Linked DNA regions of Homo sapiens: region 1 is linked to region 2. The links are contacts of gene promoters, found by promoter capture Hi-C in blood cells and fetal thymus (Javierre and others, 2016). All regions are on one chromosome and are shown on one strand. The core of a region is centred on a gene start or on the middle of the fragment in contact, and the rest is flanking DNA. Distances in the headings are between cores, read along the strand shown.

The links. Contacts are between HindIII fragments. The CHiCAGO score rates a contact against its expected background, and 5 or more counts as called.
Region 1: a contact is called between a fragment that was not itself captured here and the fragment with the promoter of AK7 in region 2, in 1 of 17 cell types (erythroblasts). The highest score is 5.5, in erythroblasts.

The regions. Positions count from the first base shown.
Region 1 is chr14:96,328,815-96,333,731 of GRCh38, reverse strand. ATG2B (autophagy related 2B) reads left to right here. Exons shown (of 42, transcript NM_018036.7): 8 at 1-44; 9 at 1,077-1,231; 10 at 1,322-1,427; 11 at 2,095-2,356; 12 at 4,098-4,248. Among named protein-coding and RNA genes, the nearest start is that of ATG2B, 32 kb to the left of the region's middle. The HindIII fragment of the contact is 471 bases long and covers 1,866-2,336 here.
Region 2 is chr14:96,389,553-96,394,070 of GRCh38, reverse strand. AK7 (adenylate kinase 7) reads right to left here and starts at 1,943. Exons shown (of 18, transcript NM_152327.5): 1 at 1,812-1,943. The coding sequence starts at 1,916. RefSeq lists a silencer at 1,874-2,383. The HindIII fragment of the contact is 12,427 bases long and covers 1-4,518 here.

The DNA of each region.
Region 1 (4,917 bases), core at 852-3,351, 60 kb after region 2:
AAGCTTTTATGAGACAGAAACAGCTCGTACACCTTCTAGCCGTGGTAAGCAACTCAAACTGTTGACACCAGAATCATATATTATAATCATAGATAAAATTACACTTAATTTTGGCTGCTGTGAACAGAAGTTTAGGAATGAAAGAACAAAAAGATCCACATTGTAAGAAATCCACAACTTTTAATTTACGATTAATCTAATCACAACATTACAGTAATGCACCAGCACATAGGTGCTATAGTATATTTTTTTGATTTTGATTGTGTAGTTTTGTTTTCTAAATGATTTAGTCTAAGGAAAACCAATTTATAAAAATGTAAATTTATGTGAAAGTTAAATTAGGTAGTTATATATTTTGTCAAATTATTATGTGCTCATGTAATGATTTCTAGATTAAGAAACTACTGAACTACTAAAGTTTAATAAGGAAACTTTCCTTTATTGATCTTTCCATCAGTTATATGTAAATAATGATCTCTACCCAGCTTACTTTACATTTATAGGTGTTTCACAATGTATAAATGCTAATAACATAAATAATATGGATCAATTTAAGTATGGAATGTTGGACAAAATAAGAAATCAAACCCTACTCAAAAAATTTTGGCCATAATAAACTTCATTTGCATGAGAGTAAAACAATTCCGAAAGAAGGAACTGAAATGTAAATGGAATTCCAAATAATGTTTTTGGCTCTGAATAAAAGAAATAACTGTATCCAGATGAAACTAGAGGTTGCAATATATTTATACTATTTTAATATCTGATTTTAATTCCTAAACTGGCATATCACATTAAAAATATACCAGGTAATACTACATTTATATATTTAAAACAAAAGAAAACATGTTCATCAGTAGGGTAGCTTCATTTTTTATTAATTTATATTGAGTTTTTACTATGCCATTAATATTTTGGACTCATAAATTACACCACTGTAAGTAACATAAAATTTGGGGCATCGCTGTATCTCATATAATCTGAAGGAAGAGGATTGTATTAACGTATATTAACTTACTTAAAAGACTTGAATTGGTGGGATTATAATACAAGTGACATAGTTTAATTCTCTCTAGAAGAAGAAGTATTCTTCTCCATGGCTGATATGGACATGTCTCATAGTCTCTCTTCTCTTCCACCCCTTGGGGACCCCCCAAACATGGACCTTGAGTTATCATTAACTAGTACATATACAAATACCCCAGCAGGATCTCCATTAAGTGCTACTGTGGTAAAGTATTACTTAATTTTTCTTCTAGACTGAAAAGTTGCTTCTAAAATTCTACACTTCATTCATGTGCTTAAAAAAAATCTTTTATAGCTTCAGCCCACTTGGGGAGAGTTCCTTGATCATCATAAAGAACAGCCAGTAAGAGGGTCAACATTTCCATCCAACCTAGTTCACCCAACACCTTTACAGAAGACATGTAAGTAAAAATAAGACATTTGTTGTTAGTTTCCGCTGGAATTTTTAAAATGCCATTCTACTGGTGCTTTTCTTTCTTTTTTTTTTTTTTCTGGTCTTGGCCATTTACAAAGTTCAGAAAGCAAAATGAACCATTGTTAAACAATTCACTGTGAAGTGTTTTAGAATAGTTGCTCATTTATTGTATTCTTTGTGTATTTAAATACTTAAATATTTTTAGTTAAAAGTACACTGTAAGTTTCATATTATTATTGCAGTTCAGGACCCTCAGTCAATCATGTGATTTTTGTTTCACTATTTACATTTTCCTTGGAAGAGAACCTCAGGTTTCTTTTCTGCAAAATTTAATTGATATAGACCCAAGGCTTAAAGGAAAATTTGGTGAGCAGTTTTTGGTTAATCTTGAGTTTTCCAGTATGTTTTTATTAATATAAAAGCTTGGTTTGTACATTTACTGTTGTCACGTACTCTTGTACTTTAGTACAAAAATCTTGGATGTAAGATGCAGCAAGATAGCAGTTGATTTTACTTAAATTAATTGTTTAATATCATTCAAACTGTTGTATGATCATCTGTTTTTTAAAGCTAATAAATGAGTAAATGTTTTATAATTTTAATAGTTTTATGTGTCAAATTTTATGTATATAATTTTAATACTTGTATTTTAGCTCTCCCATCTAGATCTGTTTCAGTGGATGAATCAAGGCCTGAACTTATTTTTAGACTAGCTGTGGGAACTTTTTCAATCTCTGTGCTTCACATTGATCCTTTATCTCCACCTGAAACGTCACAGAACCTTAATCCATTGACACCTATGGCAGTAGCTTTCTTTACTTGTATAGAAAAGATTGATCCAGCAAGATTTTCAACAGAAGATTTTAAGTCTTTCCGAGCAGTGTTTGCAGAAGCTTGCTCACACGATCACCTTAGGTAAACTCTCACATATGTATTAATGATCCTTTAAACTTCCACATATGCTAATGATCCTTGAAAAAGAACCACATGTGGACTTTTGTATCTGCCTATCTGCATTTGTTTTTCTAATTCACATTTTATTTGTAAATGAATGGAATGAGTGAAGTTTTCTTGCAGTGCTGCAAAGGTGTTTAGAATCTTTCATTCAGGTTATTTGGCATGCAGAATAACAGATCTAGATAATAGGAGTTTTCAAAGTGATCTCTTTAGTTCCCTGCCCAGCTCTTGTCAAGTTTCTTTAACCACATTTTGCCTTCATCCCTATTGACACCACTGCAGTCGTGAAAACAGTTCTTATTGTCACTGGCATTAGCAGAGATGACAGTGGTGATGAAAAATAAAATAATACTATTGGAACTGATCCATATGCCACTGGCCATGGGGTGGGAAACATTACCAAGGCTGATCCTGAAACTTGGATGCTACGTTTCAACTTCTGCTTAAGAAAAATCAAAGCTATCCAAATAGCCAGTGAGTGATCCTTTCATGGGTTGAGTCTTAACAGATGAGGAGATAATTGAATTTGTAATATAGTTGGTTTTTTTGTTTTGTTTTGTTTTTTGTTTTGAGACAGAGTCTCACTCCATCGTCCAGGCTGGAGTGCAGTGGCGCAATCTTGGCTCACTGCAACCTCTGCCTCTCAGGTTCAAGCTATTCTGCAGCCTCAGCCTCCTGAGTAGCTGAGATTACAGGCATGTGCCACCATGCCCAGCTAGTTTTTGTATCTTTAGTAGAGATGGGGTTTCACCATGTTGGCCAGGCTGGTCTCGAACTCCTGCCCTCCAGTGATCCACCTGCCTCGGTCTCCCAAAGTGCTGGGATTACAGGCGTGAGCCACCACGCCCAGCCTTTAGTATTGTTAACATGCAAACTCTGTTTTACAATTTTAATGTGAAAGTGATCTATAAATTGTTGAATGACATCTTATACGGTGGTTTAAACATATCATATATTAGTATTTTTAGAAAATACTTTGGGCGTTTATTTAATCTTTTTAACTTTTTTAAAGTATGAAAATTGATATGAAAAGTAGTTTTACACCTAATACAAGAAAAACTCTACAGGTTAGGATTATAGTATTTATACTCAAACTGTAAAAACATTTTGTTTTCTTCCACCCCCCTTTTTTTTTCTTGTATTTTTAAGAGAGATGGGGTTTCACCATACTGGCCAGGCTGGTCTCGAAGTCCTGACCTCAGGTGATCCGCCCACCTTGTCCTCCTCAAGTGCTGGGATTACAGGCATGAGCCACTGTGCCTGGACTTTTTTTTTTTTTTTTCCCATTTTTGACAAAGTTTCAAACATCTGCCAGTAGGAAAATAGAACAAAAGCGGCAGAAAATATAGGTAGACCTCATTTGGGCTTCACCGACTAAAGTTTTTGAAATATTGCATAATGTTTTTAGATAATTTTAAGAGACTATTTCATATATTTTACAGATCTGAAAGATTTTGCCTTTGCAATGTAAATTTTTAAATGTGGAAGACGAAGGGCAGTGTTGGGAAATAAACAGATCCTGGAAAATTTCCCATCAACAGAACTGATTTTTTATCTTAAGGAAAGGGAAATTTGAAGCAATCTTTCTGGTTAATTTCCTTAGGAGTATTAATTATTGATAACTTGAACTTGTCAGACTAGGTGGATAATTGTTACATTTTAACACTAATAATCTTAAATGGTGCATTTTTTATAATAGATTTATAGGTACTGGCATTAAAGTATCCTATGAACAAAGACAAAGATCAGCTTCCCGATATTTTAGTACTGATATGTCCATTGGGCAAATGGAATTTTTGGAGTGCCTATTTCCAACTGATTTTCATTCTGTTCCTCCTCACTATACAGAGGTAAATATTGAATACTTTTTCTTTAAGATTATTTTTTAAATCTACCTTGCTTTTTAATGATTGTATGAGGCAATGATTTTCTTTAAAAATGTATAGAAAGCCATAGGAGGAATATTGTCATTTTCTTTTTGCACTTGTGTTCTATAGAAATATATTTAAGAATGTCACTCAACATCGTTATAAGGATCTGTTAGAATTTTAAATTAGAGTTGACTTGTTTAGGAGTGACAGGTGGGTTATGAGAGAAATGACTTCATTTCACTCATGTTCAAAGCACTCTTCATTTCAGAAGAATTTGATTATTGAACAAATAATTATCGAATGCCTGCTGTGTGCTAAGCATTGTTTAAGACAAGTTAAATGTCTTGTGTTCATTCACCATTTTTCTGATATTTTTCCTAATGTAAAAGTGTGACCTAAAGAAACTTTAGAAAACTGTCAAAGTTATGTTCATTGCTGTTACTTTGACCCTTTATAGTGTTTTATTTCAAAAACACTTTCTTGGAAATGAATTTATTTGAATCCTCGCCTACATTTTACAGATGAGATATCACATGAGTTAACTAACTTGTCTAAGGTTCACATTGCTAGTAAGTGACAAAAATGAAACTTAAAACCAGATTTCTGACTTCAGAAAGCCTTTCTCATTATTGTATGGGCACCTCTGTA
Region 2 (4,518 bases), core at 694-3,193:
GTGGTGCAATCTCGGCTCACTGCAACCTCCGCCCCCTGGGTTCAAGTGATTTTCCTGCCTCAGCCTCCAGAGCAGCTGAGATTATAGGCGCCTGCCACCACGCCCGGTTAATTTTTGTACTTTTAGTAGAGACAGGGTTTCACTATGTTGGCCAGGCTGGTCTCGAACTCCTGACCTCAGGTGATCCACCCACCTCGGCCTCCCAAAGTGCTAGTATTACACCACGCCCACCCTAAATCTCTGTTTTTTGATGGATGCATTTTAGATGGTACACTGGGTTAAATAGCGTCTACCCCCACCAAATTCCTGTCCTCTTAGAACCTGTGAATGTGGCCTTATTTGGAAATAGGGTCTTTGCAGATGTAATCAAGTTAAAATGAAGCCATATTGGATAGGGTGAGTCCTCATCCAACAACTGGTGTCCTTATGAGAAGAGGGAAGTTTTGACACAGAGACACAGGGGAGAGAACACCATGTGAAGAAGGTGGCAGAGATTGGAGTCTACTGCCAAGGGGTGCCAAGAATTATTGGCAACTACCAGAAGCTAGGAGAGGGGCAAGCAACAGTTCTTCCCCTGGAGCTTCCAGTAGAAACCAACCCTGCTGACACCTTGATCTTGGACTTCTGCCCTCAAGAACTGCGAGAGAATAATTTCTGTTTTATAAGGTCATCCAGTTTGTGGCAATTGGTTACCACAGCCCTAGAAAACTAATACAGATTGTACGTACTGTAGCCTCATCCTATTTTAAGCAGATTTGTCCTGTTCGAAAGTGCAGTCATTAGCCTCAGAGAAGTCTGTCCAGGGTGAGATTAGATTTCTCTGTAGCTCTAGAGGACAGAATTCAGATGGACGGGTCCTACCCACAGGGAATGATAAAATCATGGCTTTCTTTTGACAACTGATCATATTAGCATGAAGGGCCCCAGAGCCCTTTTTCTGAATATCTTCATTTTCCAGGGATAAAGACACAGAAAGGTGAGGAAACTTAATGGAACTCGGGGACCCAAACAGTGTCTGGTCCATAATAGATGCTCAAAAACCATATATTGAAGGGATGGATGAATGAAAAACGCTTCATGGGCAATATAAAAATTTGATTTACTCACGCCTGTAATCCCTTTTGGATTTACTCGGCCTGTAATTTGGGAGGCCGAGACGGGTGGGTCACGAGGTCAGGAGATCGATCGAGACCATCCTGGCTAACACAGTGAAACCCCGTCTCTGCTAAAAATACAAAAAATTAGCCGGGCGCGGTGTCGGGCGCCTGTAGTCCCAGCTACTCGGAGGCTGAGGCAGGAGAATGGCGTGAACCCGGGAGGCGGAGCTTGCAGTGAGCCGAGATCGCGCCACTGCACTCCAGCCTGGGCGACAGAGCAAGGCTCCGTCTCAAAAAAAAAAAATTGATTTATTTTCTCGTTTAGCTGCCTGCTTCAAAATCGATGGAAGGGTAGAAAGAGAACCTAGGAGGGGGCAAGAGACCTGGAGTCTCTGTCCAGGTTCTGGCCTCAACTCTCTATGTGATCTTGGGCAAGTCCCTGCCTCTTAGCCTCAGTTTCCCCTCATTAAAAGGAGGAACAGGGGATGGACCAGTGATTTCCAGACACCTGAGCTTCCATGTAGAATCTCTTGACCAGCCTGGGTGCGGACTGGGGTCCAGGGGGCATTGGTGGTGCCCAGGACGCGGGACCCTCCCTGAGGAAAGGCCCCGACAGCGCCCTGGGGCGCAGACCCTCGCTGGGTTTGCGGACCGGGGGCCGAGGGCTGGGAGCTGAGAGCTGGCGTGAGGCTCTGGGCCGCCGCCGCCGCTCACCTTCCCGATGTTTCCGCTGCTGTAGGAATCCAACAGGTTTATAAACACCCTCTGGGTCCGGATAACCTTCTCCGTGAGAGCAGCAGTTTCCTCTTCTTCAGCCATGGTGGGAGCCGCGCTGGTTGCTAAGGTGAAAGCGCCACTCGCTTGCCAAGGAGGCGGGGCCCGGGCCAGGGAGGCGGGGCAGGTTCTCTCTGGGGGCGGGGCCTTGGCTCCGGGCAGTTTGCCGGGCGGGGAGGGGCGTGTCGTGGGCGAAGCAGGGAGTGCCGGGCGGGGCGGTGCGTGTCGTGCCCGGCGCTAATCAGGGCGTGCCAGGCGGGACGGGGCAGGCTGTGCCGGTCGCTGGGCGGGGCGTGCCGGGTAGGGCGGGGCGAGTCGTGCCGGGGGGTTGGGCGGGGCATGCCGGGCAGGGCGGGGTGTGTAGTGCAGTGGGCTGGGCGGGGCGCGCCGGGCGAAGCGGGGCTCAGGGCTCGCAACTGCGCGCGCTGTCGGCTGCTGGGCGCCAGGCGGATGTCCCTGCGAGTGCTTTCCGCGGCGCCGCGCGTGCAGCCCGGGTCTCACCCTGGCTTGCTGCCCACTGGGAGCCCTTGGGCAGTGCATGGTTTCTTTCCGAAGCTCCCTGGGCGTCTGTCCCGGGGGGCCATGTGATTGCTGTGCCTTTTTAATCTCCATTGTTCGGAAAGTCTGGAAACACATCCCTGTGTCCGCTTGACCCGATGACTAAAAATAATGAGAATTCTGAAGAAGAGGGAATGGCCCACAGCCTAGGCCTCTCCCCGACACGTGGGAGTTACTCAGCACGCTCCCATGGGGTGGTCTGGCCGGGGCGACGGGACGTAAGCCTCAGCTGCGAAGAAAAGCTGTTGCCATGGAGTTTCGGGCTCCCGAACACCCGAGCGACGCTAGCGTGGTCCCGCCTTGCGGCAGGTGCGGCTTGGTCCGCCGGCTCAGCTCCCTTGGGGGTTGTTTCCAGACGCACGTTCCGGGAAGACCCCTGGTGTCGGCTGGGGGCGACCAGAGCCCGTAGGCGCCCGGGATTCGCTCACATTCACCAAGGGAAGAAATTTAGACTTGACCGTTCCACAAGAGATTATACATGCAGTTGCTGAGATAAATCCACAAATTAAAAGATAACATTCACCTCGGTGATCACTGGACCATAAAGGTTGTGGTGGACTAAGAATACGCAGTTCCCTTGGAATAGCCTGATCATATTGAACTGTTTTCATGCCTTAAGCATTAACTCCTTAAATGCAAATATTTAACACTTGCAGCAATTGTGTGTGCGTGGTTTCTTCTCGTTCTTTTTATTATTTTTAATAGAGACAGGGTCTCACTATGTTTGTTGCCCAGGCTAGTCTCTAACTCCGGAGCTCAAGAAACTCTCCTGCCTCGTCCTCCCAAAGTGCTGGTATTACAGGCATGAGCCACCACGCCAGCGTTCTTGTTCTTTTTATTTTTAATTTATTTTTTTGAGATGGAGTCTCGCTCTGTCACCCAGACTGGAGTGCAATGGCATAATCTCAGCTCACTGCAACCTCGCCTCCCGGGTTCAAGCGATTCTCCTGCCTCAGCCTTCGAAGTAGCTGGGACTACAGGCGCCTACCACCGTTCCCGGCTAATTTTTGTATTTTTAGTAGAGACAGGTTTTCAGCATGTTGGTCACGCTGGTCTTGAACTTCTGGCCTCAAGTGATCCACCCGCCTCGGCCTCTCAAAGTGCTGTGATTTACAGGTGTGAGGCACCCCACCTGGCCTTCTTCTTTTTAAAAAATACTGGTTGTTTCAAAAAACGGAGGTGGCCCAACATCTTCAGACAGCTTGGAGGCTCTGGGCTTTCAGGCACTCATGAGACTTGGCTTTGAGTTTCAGCTCTCCAGTGATTTGTGGGAGGCTGGGACCAATCTTTTAACTTTCCCTATGCTGTTAAATTGTCTGTAAAATAGGAGTGATACCACCAGCCTAACAAGGCTGTTAGGATTAAATAAGACATATGTGAAGCATTTTCTGAAGTGGTCGCCAAAGGTGAAATTATTGCTTTTTTTTCCTGCAAGGCTAAGGCACACTTGTACAGATGGGAGCCTTTATATTTCGTTTTTCTGTCCCCACCCCATTTTCTTTTCTATACATGCAACTCTCATTAAAACTTGTTTTGATAAACTAACGCTTTGAAGTTTTGCCAACTCAATTTGGGAACAGTTTGCTCATACCAAATTTATTATTTTTTTGAGATGGAGTCTTGCTCTATCCTTTAGGCTGGAGTGCAGTGGCGCGACCTCGGCTCACTGCAACCTCTGCCTCCTGGGTTCAAGCCATTCTCCTGCCTCAGCCTCCCCAGTAGCTGGGATTACAGGCGCGTGCCACCACACCCGGCTAGTTTTTCTATTTTGAGTAGAGAATGGGGGTTTCACCATTTTGGCCAGGCTGGTTTTGAACTCCTGACCTTGTGATCCACCCGCCTCGGCCTCCCAAAGTGTTGAGATTACAGGTGTGAGCCCCCAGGCCCGGCAATTTTTTGCTTTTCTTTAATCAACAAGAAAGTAATGTCAGTTTAAATGTAAAAGTATTCATGCAAAATTAGTGCAAAACTTAGAAAATATACTTCAGCATTCTTTCAAATGACTTACTAGTTCAACTATTCTAAAATTCACGATTCATTTTCAAATTTTTAGTTTATCTCTGCATTCCTTGTTGATATGCAGTTAAGC